7 separate regions of the Homo sapiens genome follow, and all the other regions are linked to region 1. Evidence: promoter capture Hi-C in 16 types of primary human blood cells and fetal thymus (Javierre and others, 2016). All regions are on one chromosome and are shown on one strand. The core of a region is centred on a gene start or on the middle of the fragment in contact, and the rest is flanking DNA. Distances in the headings are between cores, read along the strand shown. Region 1 holds the start of CD2AP (CD2 associated protein). Region 2 overlaps CENPQ (centromere protein Q). Region 3 overlaps MMUT (methylmalonyl-CoA mutase). Region 4 has its middle 130 kb from the start of MMUT. Region 5 overlaps CLIC5 (chloride intracellular channel 5). Region 6 has its middle 2.1 kb from the start of ENPP4. Region 7 holds the start of ENPP5 (ectonucleotide pyrophosphatase/phosphodiesterase family member 5).

What was found. The method cuts DNA at HindIII sites, captures the fragments that hold promoters and counts their contacts. A CHiCAGO score of 5 or more calls a contact.
Region 2: a contact is called between a fragment that was not itself captured here and the fragment with the promoter of CD2AP in region 1, in 3 of 17 cell types (non-activated CD4 T cells, naive CD4 T cells and total CD4 T cells). The highest score is 9.3, in non-activated CD4 T cells.
Region 3: a contact is called between a fragment that was not itself captured here and the fragment with the promoter of CD2AP in region 1, in 5 of 17 cell types (total CD4 T cells, total CD8 T cells, activated CD4 T cells and 2 more). The highest score is 11.3, in total CD4 T cells.
Region 4: a contact is called between a fragment that was not itself captured here and the fragment with the promoter of CD2AP in region 1, in 1 of 17 cell types (endothelial precursors). The highest score is 5.7, in endothelial precursors.
Region 5: a fragment that was not itself captured here is called in contact with the fragment with the promoter of CD2AP in region 1 in 1 of 17 cell types (non-activated CD4 T cells); the score reaches 6.2 in non-activated CD4 T cells.
Region 6: a contact is called between a fragment that was not itself captured here and the fragment with the promoter of CD2AP in region 1, in 4 of 17 cell types (fetal thymus, non-activated CD4 T cells, total B cells and 1 more). The highest score is 16.2, in fetal thymus.
Region 7: the fragment with the promoter of ENPP5 here is called in contact with the fragment with the promoter of CD2AP in region 1 in 1 of 17 cell types (fetal thymus); the score reaches 7.4 in fetal thymus.

Annotation. Positions count from the first base shown.
Region 1 is chr6:47,476,083-47,479,369 of GRCh38, reverse strand. CD2AP (CD2 associated protein) reads right to left here and starts at 1,581. Exons shown (of 18, transcript NM_012120.3): 1 at 1,122-1,581. The coding sequence starts at 1,125. CD2AP-DT (CD2AP divergent transcript) reads left to right here and starts at 1,298. Exons shown (of 1, transcript NR_187257.1): 1 at 1,298-2,127. RefSeq lists an enhancer at 297-1,023 and a silencer at 1,310-1,819. The HindIII fragment of the contact is 1,754 bases long and covers 597-2,350 here.
Region 2 is chr6:49,469,007-49,472,293 of GRCh38, reverse strand. It overlaps CENPQ (centromere protein Q), which reads right to left. Exons shown (of 9, transcript NM_018132.4): 2 at 2,016-2,135; 3 at 1,266-1,320; 4 at 111-231. The coding sequence starts at 2,117. Among named protein-coding and RNA genes, the nearest start is that of CENPQ, 7.3 kb to the right of the region's middle. The HindIII fragment of the contact is 2,807 bases long and covers 320-3,126 here.
Region 3 is chr6:49,451,807-49,455,093 of GRCh38, reverse strand. It overlaps MMUT (methylmalonyl-CoA mutase), which reads left to right. Exons shown (of 13, transcript NM_000255.4): 5 at 1,338-1,509. Among named protein-coding and RNA genes, the nearest start is that of MMUT, 9.8 kb to the left of the region's middle. The HindIII fragment of the contact is 2,448 bases long and covers 814-3,261 here.
Region 4 is chr6:49,332,263-49,335,549 of GRCh38, reverse strand. No RefSeq gene overlaps it. Among named protein-coding and RNA genes, the nearest start is that of MMUT, 130 kb to the left of the region's middle. The HindIII fragment of the contact is 2,167 bases long and covers 493-2,659 here.
Region 5 is chr6:46,008,052-46,011,338 of GRCh38, reverse strand. The region is part of intron 1 of CLIC5 (chloride intracellular channel 5); the gene reads left to right. Among named protein-coding and RNA genes, the nearest start is that of CLIC5, 6.2 kb to the left of the region's middle. The HindIII fragment of the contact is 3,501 bases long and covers 88-3,287 here.
Region 6 is chr6:46,126,256-46,129,542 of GRCh38, reverse strand. It overlaps a transcript of CLIC5 not described here. Among named protein-coding and RNA genes, the nearest start is that of ENPP4, 2.1 kb to the left of the region's middle. The HindIII fragment of the contact is 3,764 bases long and covers 1-3,287 here.
Region 7 is chr6:46,169,403-46,172,689 of GRCh38, reverse strand. It overlaps ENPP5 (ectonucleotide pyrophosphatase/phosphodiesterase family member 5), which reads left to right and starts at 1,710. Exons shown (of 5, transcript NM_001290072.2): 1 at 1,710-1,882; 2 at 2,576-2,637. RefSeq lists a silencer at 1,479-1,538. The HindIII fragment of the contact is 3,442 bases long and covers 1-2,392 here.

The DNA.
Region 1 (3,287 bases), core at 332-2,831:
AGTGTGGACAGAGGGTGCCACATCAGCAGTAGTCTGTATTCGTCCTGCTTCTAAATCATTTGTTAATTACATGAATTATTCATTTCGGTGATCGTTTGTTGATATGAAGCAGTACCAACTCTCAACTGCAAAAAGTGATAGGGTCCTCCTGATTTGCTCTACAAAAATCAAACTTGGGTTTACTCTTACAGAACACGTTCTGCCTTATAGAGACACAGGGTGTTTTGTTTTTTGTAAGCTATTCTTAAGTTGCTTTTAATTTTTAAAGGATTGAGGGAGTTAGTTTAATGCCTAGCCCACACCGAACTTTGTTATCAAAAGAAATTGTTACACCACTTAACAAAACTCCTTTTCAACCCGGACTGCCACACATTCTGCCTTCTCTAACTTCAAACAAAACTATAAAGCACATAGTAAATAACATATAAGGCCTTGTATTTTTCTCTCCTCCGGCAAGGAAGTCTAACTCCAAACAGGAAACTGCTCCTCAAAGGATCCAACACTGAAGTCCAAACCCAGTCCTCGGGAGCACACTGAATGCTTAGGTGCCAACACACTTGCCTAGGTAGAACCCGAGTAAAACAAATACTCAAGCTTTCCTGTCCTTGAGGCACCCCTTGCGAGTTTCAGCAGGAAAAAAAAAAAGTTTTTGAACAAATTTATCTCTCTCCTTAAACGTATTCAAAGCCTCGCAGAAAATAAAGAAGTTGAAAGTGCTACTTTATCAAGTTTTTCGATCGCCCTCCCCCATCCCACGAGGAGGGGGAGGGAAGCAAGGGGATGAGGAAGGGAAGGAAGGTCAGGTCTGATTTTAGCTGGGCAAGGGGTTAGCAGAGGTGGCCAGGCGCCCCCGCCCCCCATCCCGCACCTTTCTGGTGAACAGGAAAAGAGGCGGAGAAGGGAGAGCGAGGGAAAGCACCCGCGAGCTCTCCCACCAGTTTCTCCGTGAGAAGAGCAAGGTGGAAGGCAGGGCAAGAAGGGGCGGTGGGGAGAATGGAGAGGGTGGGGTGCTGCCGCTCAGGGGCTGACCGCAGTCGCCTCCCCAGAAGGCCGAGAAAGGGCACAGCCTCCCCGGGTCTGGAAGGTCCGGACGGGCGGCGGGAAGCGCCCGAGTCTCTTACCCATGCTGGGGGCTCCCGCGGGGAGAAGCCGACGTCCGCTCCTCCTCCTCCTCCTCCAGTGGTGGCTCGCGCGGCCGCTCCCGCGGCTGGAGGCGGGACCCGCGCTCCGCGCTAGCCCCTCCTGAGCTCAGGCGGGGCGAAGAGTCGCCTCCATCCGCCCGCGGCGCTCTCCTACCAGTCTCTTCAGCGCGGCCCTCGAGGCAGAGGCAAAGGCGGCGACAGCTCCTCACCCCTGGCCTCCCCAGGAGCCACGGCGGCGGGAGGGCCCTACCCCGCCCGCCCGACCGCGGTTTTCCCACCCTGGCCGCTCCCGCAGTGGGGAGGGACCCACCGGTTTGCCCAGACCCTCGGCTCCAACCCCGAGCGCCCGCCTAGCCTCGGAGCCCGCCCCTCGCCTCTTCCTTAGCACTCGCAGTTAGAAAAGGCGACACCGTAGACTAAGGTGGGGACCCAGACAGAGGCCGAGAAGGTGCGGGGAGCTGGGACCGGGAGGAGGCAAATCTCGCGAGAACGCCCTCGTTCTCCCCGCCCCACCCCGCCCCGTCGCGTTCGGGCTCTCTCCCGGTCCCCACGGCTGCTGCCAGGTGCGGTGACGTCACGGCCGGGGGTCGCGCGCCGACCGCGTCCAGGTGCAGCGAGCGGATGAGGAAGCGGTGCAGAGGAGCTTGGGCTCGCTCTCCCCCCGGAGGCTCGGAACAGCTTGGGCGGGCGTTTGGTCTGGTTTGTCGCCTCAGATGGATCAAAAGGTTTCTGCTGATAGGCAAAGTTGCCCCACTTTCCGCGGCGGCGACGCGGAGTTACTTTCTGCAGCGAAGCAGCCTCGAGGACCTTAAAGGGAAAAGGCGGACAGAAGGAGGGCGAGCGCACTTGATTTCGACCTTTAAGGGAGGCCCAGATGCTGCCAGGCCCCTCAGTTTACCTTGCGAAGTTACTTACGGATCAGCAGCATTTGGTCTTCGTCGGGTGAGGGAGAAACCTAGGCATCAAATAAATTCTGTTTCACAGATTCCTTTAGTCTCTTGTCAGCTGAATGCAACTTTATAATTTGCTTTTTTTCTTTTTAAAGTATAATTTGAGTTGTTACTTGATCGAGAGAAAAATAGGCATCATGATTTGAAATACTGCCAGGCATTTTTTCTAGCGTCAATGTGAAGGAGGGCATAGGATTACTATAGTCAGTCAAACATGAGCTTGGTAGTTACGAAGAAGTATAATTATTTCAGCAAGCTTTTTTTCCCCCTTCTGTTTAAGTAGACCCAATTCCAGGGCAGATGTGTGTGTGAGCGTTTGTTGAACGCCAACTATTGTGCCTAGTGCTTTTTCAAGAAATTTTGTAATTCTCAGTCATCCAGCACTGAAACTGACTTGCCCTTTGGATCCAGGCAGACATGGGTCCTTGAAACTCAGCACAGCCATTTACTTTTTGTGGGACCTTGGATAAATTAACCTGTCTGAACTTCAATTTCTTGAGTATGTTCAAACAAATCTTGCAATGCAGAGCACAGTGGCCCATAGTAGTAACCTTGGACGTATCCATTACCACTATTTCCTATAGGCCTGCTTTTGCCATCTTTTAATTCTTCTAATGCTTCTCAAAAGGTTACATGTGGTAATTTTATAACAAGAATGATCAAACTCACAAACAGCAGCCAAAAAGGATAAAAGAAAAAAGTTGAATATACTCACCTAAACAAGATTACATTGACATCATGGAACATGTGCCTTTTTTAGGTAACAAATATGTGTTCAGCATTATGTTCGTTGTCCCCTACCAAGCAAAAAAATAAAAAGCTAAAGTACAGCGCTAATCCTCAGAGATTTTGCATTCTTCTAGGGGGGTGAGATACGAACACAAAGTTAATTAACAGTATGAGGTAGTGAGGGTCAAATGCTTGAGAATTTAAAGGAAAATAAATTACTGTGGGCAAAGCAAGCTGTAAAGAGAAGGTATGAGTTGAACGAAAGCTTGGGGAAGGCAATAATTCAGTCTGGAGGAGTCCTAGAACTGAGGAATGGAAGTGGATATGCAAACAGAGTATTTCTGAGCCTTTAAGAAATGTGTGTGGCTCAAGCAGCCCATAAGGAAGGCCATTTACGATTTGGAAGAATGAGGCTGGTGATGGGCTAAGAAGGATTCATGAAAGGAGACAAAAATATAAGCTATTG
Region 2 (3,287 bases), core at 474-2,973, 2.0 Mb before region 1:
GAAATATACTCTATTACCTTAAAATAGATAGCAATATTTAAAAGAATAATATCCATAGGAAACACCTAAATGGGAACCAAAAGAATGAAATGGAACAATTTTATACTCACATTATTACTGATTCCATCATAGTTTGCAAATGGTCTCTGGTACTCTTTGACAGAGGTTGCCAGGTTTTTCTCTTGCTGGCTGCTGTCTTTCCGTGTTTTAGGTTAGTGTGCTTTGTTTGTCCTGTCGTTAGTAATAGAAGAGGCTCTGATCAATCTAGATGTTTTACATGTTTTTGCTTAAAAATGGAATGTTTTCATCTAAAAAAGCTTATGAAATTATCAGAACAAAATATTATAAAGCTGTATAAACTGTTTAATTTACTTTTTATCACACAGCTGTAACATCCCAGGTGTTGAATATGAATATGCTTTCTATTGATAAGTTAACAGAAATACTACCAAGTGATAATAGAAATAATTTTAAATGAAGAATCAAACTTTAATTATGAAAAGTTTCATTCTCAGAAATGGCCTAAATTCTTTAAACATTTCATTGAGAGGACCAGGAAACTATTTTCCAAATGTTGGATGGCAACTGGAACAAAACAGACTAATCAAACCACAAATAGATAGTGTCAACTATGCTGTTGGTACTGTTCTACTTATTAGGTATTAAAAAAAAGAAGAAATAGTACTGGATCTCATGAAAATGAGTGTTGGAGAGAAGGGATATTGAACAAATTATAGGTGTGCAAAGCATACAAAAGGAAAAAAAAGTATTGTACACTATGGCAGTATAAAACCAGAGGACCTAACCTAGTGTTGGCTGAGGAGACGTAGAGAATCCTTCCATGAAACAGTGATGTTTAAGCAAAGGCAACTACTCTAAACTAGTTTACTCCAAACAAACTTATAATAATGGTTCCAAACTAATCTATACAGAACAGAAAGCATATTTGTCTTGAAGAAAAATTAGTACATTTGTATTTATATCACAGATCACTAATAATTCAGGCTGTGGGCCACTTTGAGTTTCTCTATTTCCTATCAACTCAGTGGCATTGAAGCCTCTACAGTATTTCGTCAGAGGTGCTAAGTAAAATTTCAGTTGACCAAAATAACTAACCACTACTACATATTCTTACAAAAATGCAAATGTAGTTGTTTATTACTATCTTTTGCAGAACTCATAAACAAGATGCTGAACATTTTTTCACGAATGTAGATATAGCTTGATATAGAAGCAGGTTAAACAAGGTAATAGAAAAGAAATACCTTCAGAAGACAGATCTTTCAGATGATTTTTATTTTTTTTCACTGTGTTTCTAACCTAGAGGGAAAAACACATGCATAAACATAAACAGAATTAAACATCAGATAAAAGGATCCTGCTTTTACAATAGATTTTTATATATGTCAAAGAGTATTCATATAATTTCTAGTACATAGAAAAAATGTATGTTGCTACTTCTAAAGAAAAATGGTGTATATTTATCACAGAGAGGACATACTAAAGCAATTCTTGACAATGATGATAATAACAGAATTTTATACAGTGTCAAAGAATGTTTTAAATGAATTATTACTCACTTTGCCTAAGAAATAATGTTATATACAAATATAGGCATTGCCTAATGAGTAGGGTAAAACCTGAAACTTTTTTTTTTTTTTTTTTTTTTTTGAGACGGAGTCTCACTCTTTTTGCCCAGGCTGGAGTGCAGTGGCACAAACTCGGTTCACTGCAACCTCTGCCTCCCGGGTTCAAGCAATTCTGCTGCTTCAACCTCCTCCCGAGTAGCTGAGATTACAGGTGTGCACCACCACGCCTGGCTAATTTTTTGTATTTTTTTTTTTGTTTTTTTTAAGTAGAGACGGGGTTTCATCATGTTAGCCAGGATGGTTTCGATCTCCTGACCTCGTGATCCACCCACCTCGGCCTCCCAAAGTGCTGGGATTACAGGCATGAGCCATAGTGCTTGGCCACAGTTGAAGATTTCTAAATGAGAAACTTGATATTTTCATTACCTTATTCTCTGACAACACAACTTCCTCATTATCCTTTTTTCTCTTTGGATTTCTTTTTAACTGTTGAGCGTTTTTCTTGGAAGCATTTGCTTTACCAGACATCTTGATCTAAACACAGTGCTTCGAAAAAAAAAAAAATCTGTAAAGATGAAAATAATACAAAAAAAGCTAAAGCCTTGCACAATGTTTTGTTTAAAAAACTATCCTGTAAATGTTCCACATTCTCTTTTTTTTTTTTTTTAAAGAAAAATCATAATAAAAGTTTGGGGATAGTATTGTATGCTTTTAAACAAGCATTTTTTAAAAGAAATAATTTTCACTCTTATCAGAATAAGGATATCTAATTCAATTTCATTCCTAGAAATTAACTTCCGTTTGTATGGATTTTAGAAAATCATTTAAAAATGCTTTTGTATCTCTTATTTTATACTCTATCGTATGATAACATCCTCTCCATGTTTAAGTCCAAGGAAATAGAAATATAAAGTAGTCACAGATAATGTCAGTTCAAGGAGTAAAGCCTAGGTCTTGTTATTTTAAGTAATAAATTTACCATTACCCAATTTTTGCCAAAAATGGAAGGAGACACTTTTTAGGATTATACCATCAATCTATGTGGAAATTCATGTGTTAGTCTGACACTATTAAGAATTTAAACTGCAATCCTATCTGGGCTATGTGCATTTTAACAAGAGTACAGAAATGTACTGAATACCCTGCCCTCCCACAAATTACAAAACAGACATGGGATTGGAAATGGGGATGTTGATAAAATTTAGAGTAATTTTCCCTCTTTTATTACCAAACTAATTTCTGATAAAAGGAACAGAAGAATGAAATACTTATTCTTGCATTACACCATAAGAAGTGGATAGAAGTTAGGTGCAGTATACAAGGAAATATGTATATGCACATATTAGCTATATATGCCTAGAAAATATATATATACACATATAAACATATACACATATTAGCCATAGCTAGATATACAGATAAATTATTCATCATTTATTTTCTAAACATTCAGAATTATTATACTGATACAGTTTAAATATATGTGCAGATTTAGAGAAAGACAATGATAAATCTATCCTCTCAAACGTTAAAAGCTTCAAACTCCCCTCCACACAAGACTGGAAAAAAAATTGGGAAAGAATTAACAGAAAGATCACAAACTACATTTAGCAACCACATATCACACCAGTTACAAAAAGCAGTGGAAGTCAAAATATCACTTTACCCTGCTCTTGAACAATGTGATACCTTACCAAA
Region 3 (3,287 bases), core at 788-3,287, 2.0 Mb before region 1:
TAATGTTAACATGTTGTGGGTTTATTTTGATTTGATTTGATGATTATTGAGATAGGATCTTGCTCTGTTGCACATGCTGGAGTGCAATGGCATGATCACTGCTCATTGCAGCCTCAGCCTGCCAGGCTTAAGGGTTCCTCCCACCTCAGGCTCCCAAGTAGCTGTGACTACAGGTGTGTGCCACCATACCTGGCTAAGTTTTAAGTTTTCCTGTAGAGATGGGGTTTCCCTGTGTTGCCTAGCTGGTATCAAACTCCTGGGCTCAAGCTATCCTCCTGCCTTGGCCTCCTAAAGTGCTGAGATTCTAGGCAGTAGCCTCTGTGCCCTTCCTTATTGTTACTTTTGAATGAACTAGTAAATAAAATATTGATAGATATTATACAAATAAAGAAATAAATTCTTTGGAATTTTCAGTAAGTTTTAAGAGTAGAAAGGGAACCTGAGATCAAAATATTTGAAAACTGCTGTGTTAAGAACTTCTTTCAAGGCTGGGTGTGGTGGCTCATGCCTGTAATCCCAGTGCTTCGGGTGACCGAGGCGGACAGATCACATGAGGCCAGGAATTCAAGACCAGTCTGGCCAACATGGCGAAACCCAGTCTCTATTAAAAATACAAAAATTAGCTGGGCATGGTGGTGCTTGTCTGTAATTCCAGCTACTTGGGAGGGTGAGGCACAAGAATCGCTTGAACCTGGGAAGTGGAGGTTGCAGTGACCCGACATTGCTTCATTGCACTCCAGCCTGTGCAATAGAACAAGACTCTGTCTCAAAAAAAGAACTTCCAAAAATGTGTCAGAAGTAGATTTGCAAGCTTTGTGCCTTTAGAGACAGGCAAGTAACCTAAATGTTTAAATCAGCACAGAATATAAGATAAAAGGGAGAGGTGAAGGGCACAAATTGGAGAAGTATATGCCTAGACCAATGCACAATCATTCTTTTACAAAACACTTTTCTGGCTAAACAAAGCAAATTTGCTGTTTTATTTCATTCATAGGTGACTCCTGTCTTACATATTGAGTATTCCTAAAATATACATTTTTTAAATAAATTGAATCTTTATTTAATGAAGGGCATAGGAAGAGATTCTTTCATTAAGAAAACCAATTACAAAGTGAATAATTCTTACCTGAAGCAAAATTTCTTCCATATGCATAAAACTGTAATTTTATGTTAGGTTTAAAGTTACATAAATGTACGTGCACTGATCTTAATTCAAATTAAGTTCTTCGAAATTAAAATATAGACCTTGATTTTCTAGTGTGTGATACAATTAGTTTTATTTTCTGCTCTATATTGTTAACTTTAATTAAATTCTGGACCTAACGTTACTATTTTAGGTTGTCTTTCTTCTGGGGAATTGGAATGAATTTCTATATGGAAATAGCAAAGATGAGAGCTGGTAGAAGACTCTGGGCTCACTTAATAGAGAAAATGTTTCAGCCTAAAAACTCAAAATCTCTTCTTCTAAGAGCACACTGTCAGACATCTGGATGGTCACTTACTGAGCAGGTATGTATATAATTTAAAATGTAGAATTTTAATAAAGTTATATATATATATTTTTTCTGAGCAATGTGGCACAAGCAGGAAATAGAATTAAGAAGCTATCTGTTAATATTTGAAATGATAAATATTCTGAAGCATAATGTATACTTAGGTTTGTAATTATACATAATATAATAAATAAATAAATAAAAATTGTCTCCCTCTGGTGGTTAACAATATAAAATCACTTACATCCTAGCTTCCCTGTAGTGCTGAAACACTTGTAAAAGTAAACAAGGCTGGGCGAGTTGGCTCACACCAGTAATTCCAACATTTTGGGAGGCCGAGGCACCCAGCCTGGCCAACCTGGCAAAAACCTACCTCTACTAAAAATACAAAATTAGTTGGGCGTGGTGGTGCATGCCTATAATCCCAGCTACTTGGGAAGCTGACGTAGGAGAATCACTTGAACCTGGGAATCGGAGGTTGCAGTGAGCCAAGATGACGCCACTGCACTCCAGCCTGGGCAACAAGAGCACAACTACGTCTAAAAAAAAAAAAAAAAAAAACAAAGAAAGAAAGAAAACAGAATTTGATGATGAGAAGGAAGCAAAAGTCATAAGTTAGTACTCTCATATAATTGTAAGAGTTATAATTCTTAACATAAAACTGCCTATTTAAAATTAATTATATATACATACATATTTTATGTGTTAAAGTTATGTATTTAAGCAAGCATGCAAGCAGACTGTTTAAAGACTGTTTTTACTTGGGTAATTTAATTTGTTCTCTTAAAAATTGTATAGTTATGGCCTTGTTTTTATACATGTTCTCTTTACATATGAAATTATTTTGGTACATTTAAAAATAATTTATATGTGCAAAGTTACATTGCTTTTATACATTTAAATGTTGAATAATAACTATTATACTCTGTATGAAATAAAACTTCAGGTTCTTATAAATGGAGAAATAGACCTGGCACAGTGGCTCACGCCTGTAAATCCCAGCACTTTGGGAGGCCAAGGCGGGCAGATCACAAGGTCAGGAGATCAAGATCATCCTGGCTAACATGGTGAAACCCCGTCTCTACTAAAAATACAAAAAAATTAGCCAGGTGTGTTGGCAGGCACCTATAGTCCCAGCTACTCAGGAGGCTGAGGCAAGAGATTGGAGTGAACCCGGGAGGCAGAGCTTACAGTGAGCCGAGATTGCGCCACTGCACTCCAGCCTGGGCAACAGAGCGAGACTCCGTCTCAAAATAAATAAATAAATAAAATAAAAATAAATAAATAAATACATGGAGAAATAAGAGATTTTTAGGGTTGGAAGGAACTTTAATAATCATTTTTATTTTAACCTGCTTATTTTTTCAGCTAAAGAAACTGAAGTTCAGAGAGATCCAATGACTTGCCCAAATCACAATTAGGCATGCAATAAACTAGAACTCAAATTTCTGATATCTCAGTTCATTGTTCATCTATTTTATTAACATTTATTCAGTGCCTGTTTTGTACACATCATTGTGGTAGATACTGTGAGGTAGACAAAATAATCAGCAAAGAGTGAATTATGAAATGAAGGACTATATAATCTTAAGTAGAAAAAGAATGCATTGTTGATATACTTATAGAAAAGTATTTAGGCAATATAAAAGTAAGCACAACAATATCTGATATTTCAGAGGATTATAAGAGGCACTAAACACTGAACTCTGACTCTTCTAATTTTGGCTTCTAAACTAATTTGTCTGAATTTATTTGCTATTCTGAAGCTTAATATGGAAATTGACATAGAAAATA
Region 4 (3,287 bases), core at 327-2,826, 1.9 Mb before region 1:
GTGAGCTTGATGAAAATATGAATTTTCATCTTGTTCTAGACTATGTTGAAATTACAGAAAACAATTATAACAATATTATGAAGCAGAACCCATAAAATAATTTGCAATATACAAGATATAAGAAGTGGGAAACTCTAAAATAGGAGAATGGGCTAATGTCATGGAACAGACCTTATGTTGATAAGATTAGTATGTTTCATTACACAGTATAATATTAATAGTAGAGAAGCATTGGTGTTACAGTCTAGTACTGTTAGCCAACTTTTCATGATTTATATTTTAAATAAATTGTAAGCTCTTCGAGTGGTGGGACAATGTGGCAGAGCCACAGTTGATAGACCTGTTCTACTTCTGGTTTCTGGACCTTGCTATAGAGGTTGAGTCTCACAAGATCGGAGCTGGCATGAGGACATGTATTATTTTAAAGAAATGTAGGACTGTGCAGTGTGAGGCTCATGCAGATACTTCAGCCGGGGGAAGGTCAATCAAGCTTTTCTATAGTTCCTTGGTGAGGAGACCTGGAATGGGAGGAGACATTGGGTCCTGAGGAAGGAACACAGCAAGGATGAGCCATGGTATTAGGGACGTAAATGGGGATGAGATCATGAAGAACCTTGAATGCATGCTAAGAAGTTTTTGGGAAACAAATATCTTGGTATCAACTATTGAGGCTAGATTTTTTTAACCTTTAAACACAGAAATGTCTCTTCAAATAAAGAGATGAATTACTTTCAAAAGTACAGTACTAGTAGCCGTATCAGTGGTGGGGACACGTCTCTCTTCTCATGTTTCCTGCTGAAGGGACTGAACTGGTGCAACATTGTTTTTCTTCCCATCTTTTTACTTACTCTACTCCAGTGTAAAAGGGTGGCTTATCTTTGGTAAGTTTGTGATAAGGTTAAACCAGGAGTGAGTATCCATTAATCATCTGTCCAGTAAATCTTAACCTGAGCAGGTTCTTTTTGTGTGAAGGGCTTTTTTTTTTTTTTTTTTTTTTGCTCACATTAAGCTCTCCACTCTAATTTTGTTTTTATTATTTATTACAGTGATTTTGGCCTCCACCAGATTCCCTTTTTTCTTTTTTTCAGAATTTGGAAAGGGAAAATGTATGCTATTTATTGGCTCTCCTTAGAGACCCCAGAAATAACAACAATGGGCATTTACAGAATGATTCATGTATAAGATTATCATTATTACTATCCCTATTATCCTTAGTGGTTCATGTCTAAGACTATGCTTATTACTGATATAATATAGGTCCTACTCACACTTCTACTGTGCCCAATGTTCCTGTCTTAGTATAACTGTAAATTTATAATTTTGTTTTAATTTTATACCCTATAAAATGTACAATTTTATCAATTAAAATATAAAACAAGTAATCCACTAAATAAACAAAAAAATGTGTTAAGGACCAAGGACTTAAAGATGAATAATGTCTAAATTTTAATAATAATAAAATCTCCATAACGATTAGAACAGAAGACATAGAAATATAGGTTTTAAAGAAATGTGTAGAATTTTCTGTAACATATGTCTACCCAAATTCCGAATCCCACACAAAATTTGGTCACGTAATGACTCACAGATGTCTTTTGTTGGCATTTCCAAGAGGCATGATATCAATTCTATGTAAGCTACTTTCTTGGAATATGAGTTTTATTTATTTTACTGAGAGATGAGATAGCCTGTGAACATTTTTTTCCTGGCTTAAAGTTACATTTTTTCCACATCTTCCTTTTTCAGAGATCCATTAATTTTTCCAGGTTTAGCAGGAAGAAAGCATAAGTTGTGGCTGTGTAAATGGTGTTACTATTTGCTTATCTCCATTTTAACAAGTATGGGAGTAATAAAGAACATATGTAAATATTACTGGGTATGGTGAAATAAAGAACATATGTAAATATTACTGGGTATGGTGAATGTTCCTTGGATCAGTGGTTCTCCAAGTGTGATCACTGCACCAGCAGCATTAGCATCACTGGGAAAATTGTTAGCAATAGAAATTCATGGAACTCCATGCCAGACCAAGTGAATCATAAACTCTGGGATGGTGTTTAGTCATCTGTGTTTTAACAAGCCCCTCAGGTGATTCTGATACACACTACCATTTGAGAACCACTACCTTACCTTAGAGAAAACAGTACTCCCTTGAAATCCTCAGCACAGGAGAATTTGGGAAACACATTACCTGCTAACGTCATTTGCTCCCATAAAGTATTATAGTGCAGGCCAAAGGCGAATACCCCCCATTTTTGAGATTAGCAATTATTATACCTTTGGTTGTAAGGAATCACCTGTTATAAGATTCCACAGTTACTTTCCTAGTAGTTTCAACATGTCAGGAAATATGTAAGGCTTAGTGAATATAGAAGTGAACAGAAGGGAAAATATATCTGCCCTCATTAATTTTTAATAACAGTTAAGAAGCAAGTAAATAAATATACAAACAATTGTGATAAATTTTGGAAGAGGAATACTAGCATGTGGATGTACTCACAGAATGTGGTTGGGAAAAGGGATTGTTATGCTAAGAGCTGGTTGTAGAGTCTTTCAAATGTCCTGAGACAGGAATGGGCTTGGCCTTTCTTAAAAAACAATAGAAACCCAATGTGACTATAACAGGATGAACTGAGAGAGACCTGGCATGAGATAAGCTTGGATTTCTACGCAGGGCAAGATCATGCTATTCCAAAAGGATTAGTCTACACCTCTCCATGCCTGATTCCTCATCTCCTATGAACATAAAACTTAGATCTATTTTCTTATAATCAGAATCCATTTAACAAATTCACTTTCCCAGCTTGAATTTAAGGCTGCAAATACTGGTTCTTGCCCATGTTTTCCCATGTGGCTCAGTACCCTGGAGACCAGTCTTAGCTCTGTCTGTAAAACTCTTGTTTTTCTAATATTAGTATATAATATGAACATCACCCAGCACATTTATTAGACCTTTTTATTAAAATTTGGCCCATGGTTATCTTGTTATATATTGCTGCATAACAAATTTTCCCTTAACTTAGAAGTTTAAAGTGATAGATATTTATTATCTCATAGTTTCTGCAGGTCAGAAATCCAGGAGTGGCTACTGCATAGTTTTGGCTCAGGGTTTCTGATGAGGTTCCAGTCAAGCTGCTGATCAGGGCTGAAGTCATCTGAAGGCTTGACTGGACTGGGAGGATCTGCTTTGTTTTTAAGATCATTTATGCTGTTGTTGGCTAAAGACCGTGGTTCCTTACAACATGGGCTTCTCTACTGCGCTGTTCATGACAGGACAGTTGGCTTCT
Region 5 (3,287 bases), core at 589-3,088, 1.5 Mb after region 1:
TAGGTGGCCTTGCTAATGCTGATTAAATGTCCAGAACTTCTAACAGCCTCAGGGCATCACGGTCAGAAGTGTTGTTGATAGAAAGCTTGCATCCAATCACTGCCCAGTTAACAGATGCTGACGAACTATTAAGCCCTATCCACAGGACTCCAGAACAATCGTGTATAGGGTTGGTCTAGTCAAAGAATCATCAATTCAGCATGGGGGAAGTAAAACAGAGTTCTGCTAATTGTCTGATGGAAACGACTAGTCTTTCATTTATTGAGTGGCCCAAAAGTTTCTGAGTGGTGCAGGGTGCAATACAAGTTGTGGTGACTCGTGGTGTGGTCATCTGACTTCCAGAACAGATAGGATCAGATCTTGTGGTGTCGCCTCTATGTCCCTGAGCTACTGTGACTGCCTGGTCACCTTGGGCCGCTTGCCTAAGCATGAGCTCACTAGGTTTTTAAAGTTCCCTTCATCATATTAAGCTACTGTGTTTTTCTTTCCCACTATCTTCAGGTTTTGATCTGTAGTCAATAACGCAATACACAAATTTGCCTGCCCTGCTATGGCAGTGAGTGCTTCTTCTCCTGGTAACACATCCCTGGAGAGCTAGCGTCAAGAGTTGTATGATGCATATTTGAAGTGCCATGGCAGGGTGGTGGGAATGAGGACTGGGTCTGCAGAAGCTGACGTCCACTGCCAGTGTTGAGAGCTCCTGCATCCCTGATGACTTGTGTTGTCTCTTTGGGCATTTATTGGCCCCCTCCATGCAAGACAAAGCGTCTGTCAATTTAGACAGTCAGTTAGGTCAAAAACTTCTCATTCTTGGTTCCCTTTGAGTTGTCAGCTGCTGGCCCCATGTTAGTGGTGGCAAGAGATGTGGTGGAAGAGTGAAACTTTGGTGTCAGGCTCGGGTTCACCAGTGTGTTGGCCAGGATGGGCTGCTTGACCTCTCTGGACCACAGATTTTTTTTTTGTTTTAACCAGTGCAGTGCTAATAGCAGCAGCACATCTTTCATGGAGTTGGTGTCAGCATTTCAAGCTGAGTATGGATCTGGCCTATTAGTAAGTCTTTCTCTGTAGGCTCCATGTAGCCCAATAAGTAAAAGTAAAGCCCTTGGGCTTCCCTCCCTTGATGTGTACAAGAAGTCAGAGGCTCAGTCCTACCAGCTGAATCTCACATCTCAGAACCAAGATACTTCTTGAAAGAAAATGTAAGTTTCCAAAGCAGGTCGTCATTCAGGGAACTGGAAGAGAAATGTTCCCGATTGTTGGAGCTGACCCCTGAGAACACAAGCAGTGAGTCTCATTGCTGCAGACCAATGGCAACTGAAGTACAGTGCAACCACCACTGGATCTGACTGCCTCTGACTGGACTGCTGCTCCATAAGCTGGAGCCCACTAGAGCCCATGTCTGGAGTAATGTGGTTGGACTGACTACAGGGTAACTGCAGATCCCTGACCCACTGGGTTCTTCAAACTCAGGGGAAGTTGATTCCTCCTGTCAGTTGCTCCCTCATCCAAGAAAGCTCCTACATAACTGCTTCCCCAAGGCTCCTGGTAGCCAGGCCAGGGTAAAGGATCCTCTTTATTTTCAAGAGGATCCCTGGTTCTCTTTGCAGATTTTACTACCCCTTCCTCAACAATCTTCCAGCTATGCATAGCCATAGGTGCTCTCATCAAATATACTCACACATGCACACGTATTATCTACCAGGATTATGGGGAAAATGTCGTAGGCTCTCACTCTCTGGTATCTATTAAAAAACTATTACCCAGAACACATCCTGAGTTGTATCTGTTGTCAAGACTGGAGGAACTAGAGATAGTAAAGATGCAAAGTGGTTAAGCATGAGTTTCCTAAGATGTAGTTCTGTAAAGGACTCTCTCTACCCAGGGTGTCTTAAATCTAACACTGCTTGTGTTCTGAGGGGTCAGCTCCCACAGTCAGGGACATTTCTCTTCCAGTTCGCTAAATGACAACCTGCTTTGGAAACGTGTCTTTTCTTTCAAGAAAGAAGTATCTAAGTTCTGAGATGTGAAATTCTTTAAGGACAAATAAGATAAATAGCCTACTGTCTGAACTGAAACGAATTCTTCCCTGTAAAAAGAAATGGAGTTGTTAACTTCTAGAAGTTCTTTTAGCTCTGCTGGCATGGGAAGAGTCTTTAAGGGGGATTCAAAGACTCTTCCCATGCCAGCAGCACTGGAGGTAAACCATGGGTAGGCTGGTGGTTCTCAGCCTTTGGGGCATGAAAGAGTCACTGCACTTGCCTTCTTCACTTGTACCTGCCCAGGTCCTGTCTATAGAGTTTCAGATTTAGGAGGGTGGGGTGAGGCCCAGGCATCTGTATGCTTAAGAAGCTACCCACTGGTGATTCTGAAGCCCATCAAAGACTGAGAACCACTGGTGCAAACCATGGGTAAATAGGGCTGAACTACTCAGTGGAGCATCAAAAGGACAAAATATGGTCCAGTCGCTACTTCAAACAAGCATTTCACAGGATGGAGGTAGCCAAGGCAATATGCTGGTTCACATGAATCACTCCAGATTGACCTCAAATAAACCAGAAAAGGGAGGAAAGAAATGCTTTTGACCTTTCTTTTGTAATTTTTCTTTTCTTCCTTTGTATATTTTTTATTATATAGGAGTGACACATAATTTTAAATGGCAATGCATGAAGGAGATAGTAAGATAAAGAATGTAGGGAGTTGGGGATAAAATATAATCAATCAATCAATATATGAAAATGCTTACAGAGCACCTACTCTGTGCCAGGCTCTGTGAAAGCTGAAGGGGGCTGGGGGAGATCAGAGAAGAAGACAGGCTCCAGTAGCTTGTGAGAGTGCCACTGAGGAGTGCAATGCAAACAAGCATCAGTGGCACATGAGTGACAGGAATGCAATGAGTCATGCATATGATGGGACCAGTGTGGCCCAAATGGTGTCTTCAGGCCCAGCTTTGGGTAGGGTGGGACCTGAGTTGAGTCTTGAAGAATGATCAGGATTCAGAGGTGGCCAAAAGTGAGCAACCATGTCAGGTCCAGCAAAGGTGTGGAGATGGGGATGCTCAGGGCTTATGAGTACACGGGGTTGTCTGAAGCAAGTGGTATATGAAAGGAGCAATTGGAAATAGGACAGCAAAAAAGCCAACAACAGTGGCAGGAGGGGGCCTTGAATGGGAGGTAAGTGGTATCTGCTCCCTTGTAAGTAGTGGGGAGTAACTGGAAGTGTCTACACACAATAGGAGATTGACTTGGGTTATGTTTAGAAAGATTGATAGCTGGACTTCGTGCTTTAGT
Region 6 (3,287 bases), core at 573-3,072, 1.4 Mb after region 1:
TCTTACTGGATAAGCGAGCACCTTTACCGGGGAAGTTAGGTAATAGTTTACAAGTAAGGTTAAAAGCAGCACAGTGCCTGCGGCAGGGAACCAGTAATGAGTTACAGCTGAGAAATGGGTGCTTACTTTGACAGACGCGTATGTGGGATTGTGCTCCTGCTTTTAATTGGAAGGTTATTTAATAGAATAATGTAACTAAACTTTCCAACATAAAGAGCAGTTACCAAACAGAAGTAGAATTATTCGCTAACAGTTGGGTTGTCCAGGCACACTTGGCAGTGAGAGGATAGCATCTTTTTTCTTTTTATCTGTAGTGCCAAACAGAACTTGGTATAGAAGTACTTGCTAAATCACTATTGAATTTAATTGTCCCGCTTGTTAAAATGCAGGCTCCAGAAGGTATTTTCTTTCTTGTTCACTACTGTATCTCCAGCTCAAATAAAAAGTACAAATAAATTAAGAATATTAATCACATGTGATATCCTCAAGTGTTAAGTATTTAATAGCTGTAAATCCAGTACCTGGATTAGTAAACTGCAGTACTGGACCTTAGATAACAAATTCTGACGTTGGTCCCCTTGGTCTGAACCTTACAGTATAGCTATTACCAACAATCTGGAAGCAGCCATGGAGATGATTTGGCAATAGATGTATTCCGTTGATTATTAGTTTGTGCCTTGATAAATTAATTCCAGTTTTAAGTCTCAGGTTGGCCTGTGCATTGGTGAATATGGGCATCTTAGATCCATGGGCTTTCAGAGCTGGAGGGGATGGTAGTGGGTCTGTAGCTGAATCCCTAGAACCTGCAGACCCTAGAACCTGGTTTGAATACTCACTCTGTCACTCACCAGCAGAGCAATCATGGGCCAGTGTCTCAACCTATTTGAGCTTTCATTTCCTCATCTGCAAAACGCGTCTTGTTACAATACCAACCTCTTACTATCAAATGAATGAGGAAAGCGAGTAGAGTATTCAGCACAGTATCTGACACATGTTGTTTTGGGGATTATTATCATTATGACCAAAAAAGTACCCCAATTTGAACAATAGTCAGGGTAAGGCCAAGTTTTGGGGGAATTTAGGTAATGTCCAATGACATAACATTTAAGATTAGCAGAACTTAAATTTTGTGGCATTTGGGGGTATTGTGCATATCCTGTTTGTTCATTCAGTAGGTGCATATGTATGCTTAAAGGGTGGACAAAACTGAATGCCATCTAGGTCAGATGTGTGGTGAAGATAGCAGCTGGATGGGCATCAGGAGAGGACTCTCTTTATCCACTGCTACTGCCTGTGTGGCTGGGTTAAATTAGGGAGTCTCATGCCACCTGGGCTCTTGCTCTGTAAGATAAAGTGGTCAGGAACAGAGGGACAAAATGACACATAAGGACCTTTGGCCCTAAACTTTTGTTATCCTCTATATATTTACCATTTCAACCACAACCAAAATCCTGTTATAGTAAGGATATTTATCGTCTTGTGGAACAAGAAGTCCAGAGGTAAGGCAGACTTCAGGACTGGTTGAGTTAGCAACTCAACGATTTCATAATGTACTCAGTTCTTTGCAGCTTTACACTTGGCTTTTAACAGAGTAGACTTCTGGTTCCTTTAGTGGTAAATATAACTACCAGCAGCAACAGGAACCATGTAATTCATTTTTCACTTCCACTGGGTGATAGAAATGACGTCTAGATTTCTTCTGTCTCTTAGAAGTCTTCAGCAACTGTCTCCTTTAATCACTTTGGACAGAATTGTGTCACATATCCAAATCTAAGCCAGCAAAGGATATGGTTACCTGTAGACCAATGCAGTCCACATCTTAAACTGAGGTCTCACCCAAACTTTACTTTTTTTCTCAATGGAAATGAGTTGGAATGGGTGCTGGGAAGCCGGCCACAAAGTTCACTATAGTTTCATTGTAGAACTTTAATGATAATAAAAGAAAACATAATAGTAACATAAATTTCTTATTTACAATGTGATTTTTAGGCATAAGTGTTGTTTTATTTAGGTAGGCAAAATAATATTCATTTATAATGTTCTTTCAGCTCAGCTTTTGCAAAGGGAATTTTATATAAATTTTGGAAATATAGAGAGCCTTTAAACCCATTTTATGTTAGAGATTGAAATGAATTAGAGGCAATAGTCTAAACTTATTATTTACAAATGAATATACCCCACAGAGAAATGACTGAGCAAACATACAGTTAGATAGAAGAAATATATTCTAATGTTTGATAGGAGAGTAGGGTGACTATAGTTAAATGTATTTTATATTTCAAAATAGCTAGAAGACAGGACTTGAAATGTTCCCATCACATAGAAATGATAAATACTCGAGGTAATGGATACCCTAAATACCCTGACTGGATTGTTACACGTTCAATGCATGTAACAAAATATCACATCTGCCCTATAAATGTATAGAAATATTATTTATCAATACACAAAAACTAAGTACAACTAGAGCATTTGCCTCTATGGGGCAATGTCAGATTTGGAAGCAGCATGTCAAAGGCAGTTTCTTTTTCTCCCATGAACTACGCTCAAGACTGAACATTTATTCATTAACACAAAATATTTTAAAAATCTTATCCTGTTTTCAAAATTTAAGACATAGCTCTCTATACAATTATTTCTCTTTTATACTCCTAATTGTGATGTATAACTCATTGCTGGCCAGGAGAAGGTCAGAAGTTAGAAGTTACAGGAAGAAGGTTTCAGAGCAAAAGCCACACGCTTCCCAAAGAAAAACAATTCCTGTCCACTGCTCAGTTCTAATTAAACAACAACACAACTGAAACTAAATAATTGAATGTCAAGGAGAGTATTTAAGGTTCACTTTTTAATATAAATTAGATGTTTAAGTAATACAGATTTTATCTTAAATATAACAGGGGAAAAGGACCTTATGAATCATTGCATTTTAGTGATTTTGAAAGTTCCTTTGGTGAAAACTTTTCACCTACTCCATTTTCAGTAAGATTATATTGGAATAATCTCAATCAAGTTAAGATTGTAAAATATTTTTAAGTGCTCCTTTAAAAAATGATTCTGTATTAACCACCATGAACTATTGTGTTAGACCTTCACTCTAAAGGAATTTTTTCAAATATTTAATAAAGCTGTGAAAGAATCAGTATAAATTCTTTTGAGGCTTTCCTATGTGGAGAGCAATGTGCTCAATTTTTCAAAAGATACAAAAATAAGTAAGATTAATTCCTTGCCCTCAAGGTGCCTCTAATCTAAGAAAATGAATGGAGAGGACATTACTCTCTTGCTTTTGC
Region 7 (3,287 bases), core at 461-2,960, 1.3 Mb after region 1:
AAACAGAGTCCAACAATGTTCAGTGATCCGAACAAAAGTCAGGCCCATTTTCACCACTCCTGCTCTCTGATAAGCGTACATTGTCCTTTGAGTGTTTTGGGAGAGCACAGAGTTGACCTATTCTGGGGGACAAGGACTTACAAGATTGGACCACTCTGTTCCAAGTTTGGGCAATTTCAAAGGACAGGGCTTTGGGGAATTGGAACAACTTGTTCAACTTCATTGTGTTTGGGTCTCACTAAACATAGAAACCAGCCTCCCTCTTAATCCCCATCCCACGTGTTGAAAACCATAAACTCAAGTTACCACGAATAAAAGGCCATGGAAGAGTGCCCAGATGCCCTTCGGGATGGGATGACCCAGTTAGGAGGTAACAATGTTTGGGGTTGAGATTGTCCCTCTATTAGAAGCAGACAGAGAAAAAGCTATGACCAAAATGTTTGCATGGCTTAATTAAATATCAACAGATATCTCTATTCACTTTAAAGCTCCAGCACACCAGACAAGGGATCCGAGCTCCGGGCAGGAGCCAAAACCACCATTGCAGATATGCTCCCAGTTTTACCAGCTAATTAGATGTTAAACTTACATTGTAACAATCAACCTGATATTATTGCCTACTGCAGATAGAACTAGAATTCTAATTAGGTCAGAATTCTAGCTGGGATTGTGTAGATGGACAAATTCTTTCAGGGTAGTTTGATATCACTGCTATAATTTATGGTAAAGACAGTTGGGATCATACTGGCAAACTAAGTACCTGCCTACACTCCCTCAGGCCTAAAAATGCCATTGATTATCCCAAAAAAACTGAGAAAATAATCCACTACAGTACGGAAAAAGACAAAATAGGGGCACTAACACACAAGAAGCACTGAAGGCTTTCTGAAAGAGTAATCAGGCCTGATGTTTGTAGTTTTAATGTTTACTTTGCAAACAAAGGTAGAAACAGAGTCTGGAGCTCGGATGCCACCACCAGAGAGGGTGGCTGTTCAGCCTCTCTCCTGTGCAAATTAACCTAATTCTGAACCTGTCTTGGTTTAATTCGCACAATTTCAGGTGCCATGCTAGGTACACCACAAATATACCTCAGGGACCTCAATTGCAAAAACCTGGACTGCAAACGTTGGGGCTGCAGAGTTGACTAGGTTAATAAATTCTTTCTGAGGTAAAGCAGATAACACCCACTAATAAAAAGAATGAAACTTCATCGTCCCATTGGCATCCTCGGGTGTGCAGGTGTTCCTCAGAGCAAAGCCCATGGTGTGCCCCATCGCCAATTCGTGACAAGGCAGGGGGCGGGGGGCGGGGGAAGGAAAAAAGCCTGGGATAAGAAATCAGAGAATACAAGTCGCTTTTAAACAAAAAACAGTGACTGTTAGAGTACACCCACCATTGGGGTAACACGCAATAATCTCTCAGCATCACTGACTCCAGCACAGCTGGTCCCCTGGAAAAGGCACGTTGCCGGAAGGTTTTGTGTGTGACCAAGCAATTGGCCATCCCACGCCTTCGCCCTACCAGATGGGTCCCTGCCCCCGGGAGTCCCCTCCCCCTCCACCCTCCAAACCCAGGCAGCGCCCGCCCCTGCCCCCGCTGATTGACAGGCCGTGCAGCTACTCCTGGGAGCCTGGCTTTCGGGGGCAACCCAGGCAGAAGTGACTATCTCTGCAGCAGCCAATAGAAGCCAGGAGGCGGGGCGGGGAAGCGGCGCGGTCAGGTGCTCCGCTCCAGAGTTGAGCGCAGGTGAGCTCCTGCGCGTTCCGGGGGCGTTCCTCCAGTCACCCTCCCGCCGTTACCCGCGGCGCGCCCGAGGGAGTCTCCTCCAGACCCTCCCTCCCGTTGCTCCAAACTAATACGGACTGAACGGATCGCTGCGAGGGTGAGTCCAGGGGCGTGGGTGGCTTCCCTCCCGGGAACCCACACTGCTCCTCTGGGTCCCTAAAGCAACGTCCCCTCCTTGCCACTGCACATCTAAGAAGCCCAGGCCTCGGTGGGCGGGATGACTGGGAATTGGGAACATAACCTACGCCGCGACCATTCTGGGTGGCTAGGATGGAATCCTGGTGGAGAAGATGGACACCCCCGCCCTTGACGTCTACCCGAGCTACACAAACCTACTCCTTCTGCACTTTCCCTCTTCCGTTTAATCGGTGCCCCGTCCTTCCTGCTCTCCAAGTCTGTTTGTGGAGGAAGGGTTGGAGGGGAGAAAGAACTGGAAAGTACTCAATGAAATGTGGAGCCAGATCCAGGGATTCCACTGTTTTGTGCAGCATTTTGTGCACGAAAAAAAAAAAAATTCTGATTGTTTTCATTCCCCACCCCCCACCTCTGTTTATTGCTCTGTGTCATGGATGTGATGTTGAGTCTTCTTGCCAAACATTCCTAAGCTTTAGACAACACTTAATCTTTGCTTACTTTTGTTGGTCCCAAGAAAGCAGTTTTCTCCTGCTTACACATGTGCCGAATTAATTTGCTAAGATAGATGAAAATGAGGTGTTCCATGTAGTTTATTTCCTCTGCTTTTAGCCTTAAATTACATTTGGTTGATACTAGCCTTCCTTGTTTTAAAAAGGTGGGAGAGAAAATTAGGGGGAGAAAGGACAGAGAGAGCAACTACCATCCATAGCCAGATAGGTGAGTAAATATATTTGCAGTAACCTATTTGCTATTCCTTGCTGCAACTGTGTTTAATGTTCCTTCCAGAATCAGAGAGAGTATTGCCATCCAAGAAATCGTTTTTAAATATGACATTTGAGCTATCATCTTGAGACCAATACCTAAAACAATTTCAGTTTAAGAAATGTCTAGGTATGGTGAAAACACAGTTTAAAACCAGCAAAACAGAATTTATTGCCCTCAGCGAATACCCACAATGTACATATACCTTGTATTTCTGAAAGCAAAGCAAGCATGCCAAGTAGTTTTTATTTACCTGTACCTATAATACAGCAAGGTGAAACAGGATATATTTTTGAAGTTTAAAAATGTCTTCAGGCCGGCTGCGGTGGCTCATGCCTGTAATCCCAGCACTTTGGGGAGCCGAGAAGGGTGAATCACCTGAGGTCAGCAGTTTTGAGACCAGGCTGGCCAACATGGCGAAACCCTGTCTCTACTGAAAATACAAAAATTAGCTGGGTGTGGTGGCGGGCGCCTGTAGTCCCAGCTACTTGGGAGACTGAGGCAGGAGAATTGCTTGAACACGGAAGGCGGAAGTTGCAGTAAGCTGAGATCGTGCCACCGCACACCAGCTTGGGCAACAGAGTGAGACTCCCTCTCAAAAAAAA